Linked DNA regions of Homo sapiens: region 2 is linked to region 1. Evidence: promoter capture Hi-C in human tissues and cell types (Jung and others, 2019). All regions are on one chromosome and are shown on one strand. Each heading gives the region's core, a stretch centred on a gene start or on the middle of the fragment in contact. The rest is flanking DNA. Distances are from core to core; before and after follow the strand shown.

Region 1 (4,705 bases), core at 1,500-3,999:
AACAGTGAGTGCCAGGGGATGGGCAGACTGTGAAGGATGGGGGTAGGGAGCTGTGGTTATATCAGACCACCCTCCCCAACGTGCTGTGCCTAGACCAGAGATGGGCATGGAGGGCAGCATATTCAGGGCCATCATGAGGGCTGTTGCTGGTGCATTCTAATTCCTCCAACCTCTCTCCTCCCTGGTGCCCAGGTTGTTGTTTCCCCCACCCGGCTCTGCTCTCCCATGCCCAGCATGGCTTACCAGACAGCTGAGGCCAGCAGGATGCTGGAGTTGTTGCTGAAGTAATCGATCAGTGGCTCCCCAAGGAGCAGATCAGCCAGGATGTAGCTCCCGAAGCAATGCAGCATGGCGCACAGCCAGGACGCGATGGGGTGGCGCCGGGACAGTTCGACTGCTCCTGGGAGGCACAGGAGTGTCCCCCATCATCACCAGCATGCCAAGGGCAGGCTTCACTCCCATATGCTCTGGTCAGCCTATCCTAATCCAGAGCGCCCACCCAACACTGTGCAGTTTGTAAGTTTCAGAGGAGGAACCAAGGTTCAGAGAGGCTGTACGCATGCCTGAGGTTGCACAGAGAAAATAGAGAGCCGAGTGGGAGTCCTTTCCTTCATGCCCAGAGAGGTGGCAATGATGATGACACTAGTTCACATTTAGGACTTAATAAATCCTCATCAGTGTCCCAGCCAAGTGATGGCTTTTATTATCAGGAGTCTCATTGTCAAGAGGAGACTGAGGCTTGGTGAGACGGGCCAGCTTGTACCTGGGAGTACTTTGAAATTGCTACTCTGGGCCGGGCATGGTGGCTCACACCTGTAATCCCAGCACTTTGGGAGTCCAAGGTGGACAAATCACTTGAGGTCAGGAGTTCAAGACCAGCCTGGCTAACATGGTGAAACCCCGTCCCTAAAAATACAAAAATTAGCCGGGAACGGTAGTGCATGCCTGTAATCCCAGCTACTCAGGAGGCTGACAGGAGAATCACTTGAACTCAGGAGGTGGAGGCTGCAGTGAGCTGAGATTGCACCACTGCACTGCACTCCAGCCTGGGCAACAGAGCAAGACTCCATCTAAAACACACACATACACACACACACACACACACACACACACACACACACACACACACACGAAACAAAAGAAATTGCTATTCTGACCTCAGCTGATCCCAAGATCCCTATGAGCTTATGCTGGTATTCTTTTTTTTTTTTTTTTTTAACTTTTTTTGTTTGTTTCAAACAGAGTGTCACTCTGTCACCCAGGCTGGAGTGCAATGGTGCAATCTCAGCTCATTGCAAATTCTGCCTCCCAGGTTCAAGCGATCCTCCTGCCTCAGACTCCCGAGTAGCTGGGATCACAGGCAGCCACCACCATGCCTGGCTAATTTTTGTATTTTCAGTAGAGAAGGGGTTTCACCATGTTGGCCAAGCTGGTCTCCAACTCTTGGACTCAAGTGAACCTCCCACCTCAGCCTCCCAAAGTGCTGGGATTACAGGCATGAGTCACCGTGCCCAGCCTTATGCTGGTATTCTTACACCTGCTGTCTTAAAAAGAATTTTTTTTTGTAAAATATACATTAAATTTATCACTTTACTTTTTTTTTTTTTTTTTTTTTTTGGACACAGGGTTTCACTCCCATCACCCAGCCTGGAGCGCAGTGGTGCAATCACGACTCACTGCAGCCTTGACTTCCTGGGCTCAAACACTCCTCCCACCTCAGCCTCGAAAGTATTTGGGACTACAGGCACGCGCGCCACCATGCCAGGCTAATTTTTTGTATATTTAAAGTAGGCACGGGGTTTCGCCATGTTGCCCAGGCTGGTCTCAAACTCCTGGGCTCAAGCCATCCACCTGGCTCAGCTTCCCAAAGAGTTGGGATTATAGACGTGAGACACCATGCCCAGCCCATTTTAAACATTTTTAAGTGTATAGCTCTTTTTTTTTTTTTTTTTTTTTGAGACAGAGTCTCACTCTGTCACCAGGCTGGAGCGCGGTGGCGCGATCTCGGCTCACTGCAACCTCCTCCTCCCGGGTTCAAGTGATTCTCCTGCCTCAGCCACCCGAGTAGCTGGGATTACAGGCATGCGCCACCACGCCCAACTAATTTTTGTATTTTTAGTGGAGATGGGGGTTCACCATGTTGGCCAGGATAGTCTCAATCTCTTGACCTTGTGATCTGCCCACCTTGGCCTCCCAAAGTGCTGGGATTACAGGCATGAGCCACTGCCAAGTGGCTGGCCAAGTGTGTGGTTCTATGGCATTATATTCACATTGTTTTGCCATAATCACCACCAACCATCTCCAAAACTCTTTCATCTTCCCAAACTGAAACCTATTAAACACTCACTCCTCATCCCCCATCGCCTAGCCCCTGGCACCATTCTACTTTCTGTCTCTATGAAATTGATGACTTTAGGAATCTCATGTAAGCGAAACCATACAAACTTTGTTGTTTTGTGTGGCTTATTGAGCATAATGTCCTCAAGCTTCATCCCCATTGTAGCATGTATTAAGCTTTTATTTCCGGGCTGGGCACGGTGGCTCACACTTGTAATCCCAACACTCTGGGAGGCTGAGCCACGTAGATCACTTGAGCCTGGGTGTTCGAGACCAACATGGGCAACATAGTGAGACCCCACCTCTGCAAAAAATTTTAAAAATTAGCTGGGCGTGGTGGCATGCTTCTGTAGTCCCAGCTACTCGGGAAGCTGAGGTAGGAAGATCACTTGAGCTGGTGAGGTGGAGGCTGCAGTGAGTCATGAGCATGCCACTGCACTCCAGAGCAAGACCCTGTTGAGAGGGGAGGGGAAGGGAGGGAAGGGGAGGGGAGGCCAGCCTGGGCAACACAGTGAGACCCCATCTCTACAAAAAATTTTTTCTAATTAGCTGGGCATGGTGGCATGCACCTGTAGTCCCAGCTACTCAAGAGGTTGAGTTGGGAGGATCACTTGAACCCAAGAGTTTGAGGCTGCAGTAAGCCATGAGTGCACCACTGCACTCCAGCCTGGGTGACAGAATGAGACTCTGTCTCAAAAATAATAAATATATAAAGTCTGTAGTTGAGTTAATGATAGTGTACCCATGCCAATTTCCTGGTTTTAATAATGCACTATCATTACATAAGATGTCATTGGAGGAAGCTGGGTAAAGGGTATTTGCAAATTCTCTGTACCATTTTTGCAACTTCTTGTGAGTCATAAACTCTTCCAAGATAAGAAGTATTTTAAAATTCCATATTAAAAAGAAGGGGGCTTGAAAACCCCATTGCTGAGTCCTTAGGTCCTATAGCTGGGCTTTTTTTTTTTTTTTCTTTTTAAAAAAAGGGCTGGGCACGGTGGCTCATGCCTGTAATCCCAGCACTTTGGGAGGGCGAGGTGGGTGGATCACCTGAGGTCAGGAGTTCAAGACCAGCCTGGCCAACATGGTGAAACCTCATCTCTACTAAAAATACAAAAATTAGCCAGGCGTGGTGGTGGGCGCCTTTAATCTCAGCTACTCGGGAGGCTGAGTCAAGAGAATTGCTGGAACCTAGGAGGCAGAGGTTGCAGTGAGCTGAGATCGTGCCATTGCCCTCCAGCCCAGGCCAACAACAGCGAGACTACCTCTCAAAAAAAAAAAAAAAAAAAAAGGTCATGAAAATGCAACACTCGGGGTACAGTATTAATGTCTATTCACTAAATCCTTGCATCTTGTATTACTCATGTAAAGCCTTTATAATCTTTATAAATAGTTCTATCCTTATGTTGTATCTTCGTAATCTTCTAAGGCCACACCTTGGAGTTAGAACTTGTGTCTCCTGGTATGACCACTTCTTTCATCATATTGATTCTGTCTTTCCCAACTAGTTTCGTTTTGCAGAGAACAACTTTATGATCAAGTTGTAAGGTACAGCTACTCTGTACATTACATGACCAGAGCCAAAACCAACGATTCCCCTAATACAACTTATTCTAATGAAATGAAAACTACAGTCAGTATTGACATGAGATAACAAGGTCACAAAATGTAATCTCTCTCTTTTTTTGTTTGAGATGGAGTCTCGCTCTGTCCCGCAGGCTGGAGTGCAGTGGCGCAATCTCAGATCACTGCAAGCTCCGCCTCACAGGTTCATGCCATTCTCCTGCCTCAGCCTCCCTAGTAGCTGGGACTACAGGCACCCGCCAGCACGCCCAATTTTTTGTAATTTTAGTAGAGACGGGGTTTCACTGTGTTAGCCAAGATGGTCTCAATCTCCTGACCTCGTGATCCGCCTGCCTCGGCCTCACAAAGTGCTGGGATTACAGGTGTGAGCCACCGCGCCCGGCCAAAATGTGATCTCTTATTAGTCAAATCAAAAGACTAAGCAAAAGAAATAATCAGTTTTGTCTATTTTTAGCAGGGAAGAGAAAGAGTGTCTGTTGTGGACAGAATGTTTCTGTCTCTCCAAAATTCGTATGTTGAAATCCTACCCCTCCCCGCTTGTGATAGCATTAGGAGGTCGGGCCTTTGGGAGGTGATTATGTCACCAGGGTAGACCCCTCACGAACGGGGTTAGAGCCTTTATAAATGGTGGCTCACGCCTGTCATCCCAGCACTTTGGGAGGCTGAGGCGGGCAGATGACAAGGTCAGGAGTTCGAGACCAGCCTGGCCAATATGGTGAAACCCTGTCTCTACTAGAAATACAAAAATTAGCTGGGCGTTGCGGGAGGCGCCTGTAGTCCCAGC
Region 2 (4,705 bases), core at 810-3,309, 140 kb after region 1:
CGGCTAATTTTTGTATTTTTAGTAGAGATGGGATTTCTCCATGTTGGCCAGGCTGGTCTCGAACTCCTGACCTCAGGTGATCTGCGTGCCTTGGCCTCCCAAGGTGCTGGAATTACAGGCATGAGCCACTGAGCCTGGCCTTTCTTCCTCTTTTTATTTTATTTTATTTATTTTATTTATTTTTTTTTTTTGAGATGGAGTCTCACTCTGTCGCCCAGGCTGGAGTGCAGTGGTGCAATCTCAGCTCACTGCAAGCTCCAAACCAGTCCCACTCCCATGATAACCTATTTATCCATTAACACATGAATGGCACGACCTCATAACCCAATCACCTCTTAAAGGCTCCACCTCTTAATACTGTTTCACTGGGGATTAGGAACAAACATTCAAACTGTAGCAACTTGTATTTAAGAAACTACTCAGTTATCATATTTTGATTTTCACCAACAAAAATTTTATGAACTTTTCTTTCTGGTTATAGAAATACCTAAATAAGGCTGGGTAGGGTGGCTCACACCTGTAATCCCAGCAGTCTGGGAGGCCAAGGCAGGCAGATCATGTGAGGTCAGGAGTTCAAGACCAGCATGGCCAACCTGGTGAAACCCCATCTCTACTAAAAATGCAAAAATTAGCCGGGCGTGGTGGTGCGCACCTGTAGTCCCAGCTCCCCTGGAGGCTGAGGCAGGAGAATTGCTTGAGCACGGGAGGCAGAGGTTGCAGTGAACCGAGATCACACCACTGCACTCCAGCTTGGGCGAGAGAGAGCAAGACTGTGTCTCAAAAAAAAAAAAAAACCAAACAATTAAGATCCTCGATCTTCATGAGAAAATATGAACTAGAGGACATTTAGAAAAAAAAAAATCCTTGATCTTGCCTCCTGACCTGCAGAGTCTAAAATATTTGCTTTCTGTCCCTTTTATACAAAAAGTTTTGTTGATTCCTAGCCTACAGCAACACTTGATGTAGAGTTGTCAATCCATAAGCATCTGGTGGAAAAATGCTGTTAACAATAAAAATGAAACTAATCTAAAATACATGTGCATTTATTTGCACAGAAAAAAACAGGCTGGGTAAAGTAGCTCATGCCTATAATCCTAGCACTTTGGGAGGCCGAGGCGGGAGGATTACTTGAGCACAGGAGTTCAGGGCTAGTGAGCTATGATCATGACACTGCACTCCAGCGTGGGCCACAGAGCAAGACCTTGTCTCAAGAAAAAAGAAAAAAAAAAACGGATAAAGGAAAAAAAAGCGGCGGGGGCGGGGGGCAGGTATAGCCAACTAAGCATTAACCATCTCAAGAGGATCAGTTTATATCGGACGTCCACAGCAGAAATTTGCTGCTTCTGGCTATCTTTTCCCCACAATTAGCAAGGGTTAGCTTCATTATTTTAGAGGCAACCCAACTGCAGCTTTTAGAAAGGCGCTGTGCCCTCTAGGCCAGCAATTTGAGGGCATGGGTTGGGGGGTACCCCGCCCCAGTCTTCCTGACCAAAGAGTGGAGCGGAAGAAAGCCAGGAGGAGGATGTTTTGAACCTAAATACGTCCAGCTGCAATCCCAGTCAAGCTCGTCGCCCCCAGTTCTGCTCCACCTCCGGTCTGGCCGGGGAGAATGTGACAGTCGCCGCAGCCCGGGATCCACCCGGACGCACCTCACCTCGCAGTCTCCTCACTGTGCCCGCGAAAGGAAAGAGACCCTGGCCCAGGCACGAAGTCCCCAGGCCCCTGGTCGCCCGGAGGTAGCAACCAGCCAGCCCATCGGGCTGCGACGCCGACCAAGGGGCACGCCCCGCGCCCCCCGGTCTCGACTAACACCCACCCGCGCCGTTCCAGCCTTTCCGCGGCGCCGCGCGACGGGGACCCACTCTGCGAAAGTGTCAGGAAACTTCTGCGCGTGCGCGTCGCTAGCCCCTCCCGCGCGCCAGGCATCGCGCGGCTTCTTCCCGCCTGCCTCCCGCTCTCACTTCCGGAGTTTCCCAGCGACGGCCGTAAGTGGCGGGCGGAAGCGGCCCTAGAAGCCCGCCGTAAACGGCTCCCTCGCGCCACTTCCGGCCGGCTTCCGCAGACGGCGCTGGTGGTCGATCGTGTGGCGCCGGAGGACGTTCCCCGCGGCCGGAGCCATGGAGATGCCGCTGCCCCCCGATGGTGAGACCCAAACCGGCCGAGAGACCGTTTCTCTCTCCCCGGAACCTCCTATTGGCCGGCCCCGCCTCCCGGAGTCCCCGGGTCTGGGAGGGGGCGGGGCTCGGCCTCGCGGCTTCGCCTGCGGCCTCTCCCGTGGGTCCCCGCATTCCCGGCGAGCGTGTGGCCCCTATCGGGACCCGTACAAGGGCGGCCTCTTCGGGGCCCACCCCCTTGGGGTCCCCGGCAAGGCGGACGGGGGCTGGGGCGCCGAGTCCCCCGGCTTTGGGCGGTCCTCGCTGACGCCCCGCGTGGCCTTTTCTCCGTCCTCCAGACCAGGAGCTTCGAAATGTCATCGACAAGCTCGCCCAGTTCGTGGCTCGCAATGGGCCCGAGTTTGAGAAGATGACTATGGAGAAGCAGAAGGACAACCCCAAATTCTCGTTTCTTTTCGGAGGCGAATTCTACAGTTACTACAAGTGCAAGCTGGCGCTGGAGCAGCAGCAGCGTGAGTCCCCTCCGGCACTCAGGCCGTCCCATCGAGCGCTTCCTTTCTCGGATTCCAGTCCGGGCTCTGCCACAAACCTCTTTCTTTCGGGTCGTTTATTCTTTGAAGTGGAGCAGCTCGGTCCACACGATCCCTGTTCCGCTGTTCCCACGGCCCTGCACAGAGCGGCTGCTGGGTGCCACTGTAATGGAGAACAACGAGGTTTTCGATCCTCCCCCCTGGGCTCTGGATCAGGGATTTTGCTGTTGTTTTGCAGACTGATGACGGAGATTAGCAGGAGTAGCGTGATTGTTTTAGTGTTTTCTAGGGAGGAAGTGATAGAGGCCGGATGGGAGTCCATGGGACAGGCACTGTCCAGCCCCCTTTGCCGTCTCCCTGTGGGTCCAGCAAGGTTTTGTGCATTTCAGATGCCTGCAGCAGAAATCAAAAAGAATTATCCCTCTGAGTTTTAGTTATTGGCAAGTGTTTATCAATGTTCGTTCATTTAGGCAACAGGATTCCAGTCCTGCTCTAAAGAAGTTTAAAGTTAGGAAGCAGAGCTGGCCTTTGAATAATGGATAGTCACCAGGTGGTGCGGCTGCTCAGGGCAGGTATCACATCTGTCACGTTCAGTACCCAACCCCGTCTCTAGATTGTTTAAATGAATAACTAGGAGTTTGCCAGGTAGATGGACATTGAGAGGTGGTTGTCCGCTGTTTGATCGAACGCCAATTGTGTGTTATGTATTAAGGTACAATGACCCAAACAAGGTCTGTTTGGCTTCGGCGAGCGTGTAGTTCAGGGGACTACACGCTCGTCTTGTATTAAGGTACAAGGTCATTGTCCCTTAATACATAACACACAGTTGGTGTTCGATTAAACAGCTTGAAAGGAGGCCTGTTGCAGTGGCTCATACTGTAATCACAGCACTTTGGGAGTCCAAGGCGGGCAGATCACTTGAGGTTAGGAGTCTGAGACCAGCCTGGCCAACATAGTGAAACCCTGTTTCTACGAAAAATACAAAAATTAGCCGGGTGTGGTGGCCCGCGCCTGTAGTCCCAGCTACTTGGGAGGCTGAGGCGGGAGAATCGCTTGAACCCGGGAGGTGGAGGTTGCGGTAAGCCAAGACCACGCCATTGCACTGCAGTCTGAGTGACAGAGTAAGACTCCATCTCAAAAAAAAAAAAGAAAGAAAGAAAAAGAAAAGGCTTGAAAGGAGGCCAGGCGTAGTGGCTGACGCCTGTAATCCCAGCACTTTGGGAGGCTGAAGCGGGCAGATCACTTGAGGTTAGGAGTCTGAGAACAGCCTGGCTAACATAGTGAAACCCTATCTCTACTAAAATTACAAAACTTAGTCAGGTGTGGTGGCACACACCTGTAGTCCCAGCTACTGGAGAGGCTGAGGCAGAAGAATCGCTTGAACCTGGGAGCTGGAGGTTGCATTGAGCCGAGACCACACCATTGCGCTCCAGCCTGGGTGACAGAATGAGACTCCATCTAAAAAAAAAAAGCAGCTTGAAAGGAGGCCAGGCCCAGTGGCTTGTGCCTGTAATCCCAGCACTTTAGGAGGCTGAGTCAGGCGGATCACTTGAGGTCAGGAGTTCGAGACCAGCCTGGCCAACATGGTGAAACCCCATCTCTACTAAAAATACAAAAAAAATTAGCCAGGCATGGTGGTGGGCACCTGTAGTCCCAGCTACCCGGGAGGCTGAGGCAGGAGAATCGCTTGAACCTGGGAGGTGGAGGTTGCAGTGAGCCAAGATCGTGCCACTGCACTCTAGCCTGGGAGACAGCGAAACTCCATCTAACAACAACAACAACAAAAACTTGAAAGGCTGAGAGAGTAGAACATTGCAAAGGGGCAGTTTCTTGAACAAGAAACAGAGAGAGAGTTTATGTGTGTATTGCCAGGCACAGTGGCACACACCGTACCCCCAGCTACTCAAGAGGCTGAGGCTGGAGGGTTGCTTGAGCCCGGGAGTTCAGGGCTGTAGTGCGCTGTGTCGATTGAGTGTGTGCAGTAAGTTCAGTGTCAGTATGGTGACCCCCTGGGAGCTGGGGACCACTCGACTGTCTAAGGGGTGGTGAACTGGCCCAGGT

Evidence for each region. Contacts are between HindIII fragments. The study calls those that stand out against the background at their distance.
Region 2: the fragment with the promoter of CHERP here is called in contact with a fragment that was not itself captured in region 1 in 1 of the 25 tissues and cell types used here (spleen).

Annotation. Positions count from the first base shown.
Region 1 is chr19:16,675,679-16,680,383 of GRCh38, reverse strand. TMEM38A (transmembrane protein 38A) reads right to left here. Exons shown (of 6, transcript NM_024074.4): 2 at 244-400. Among named protein-coding and RNA genes, the nearest start is that of TMEM38A, 17 kb to the right of the region's middle. RefSeq lists an enhancer at 327-827. The HindIII fragment of the contact is 4,607 bases long and covers 446-4,705 here.
Region 2 is chr19:16,539,791-16,544,495 of GRCh38, reverse strand. CHERP (calcium homeostasis endoplasmic reticulum protein) reads left to right here and starts at 2,059. Exons shown (of 17, transcript NM_006387.6): 1 at 2,059-2,142; 2 at 2,453-2,626. The coding sequence starts at 2,118. It also overlaps the pseudogene RN7SL146P. RefSeq lists silencers at 2,158-2,347, 2,358-2,427. The HindIII fragment of the contact is 9,580 bases long and covers 395-4,705 here.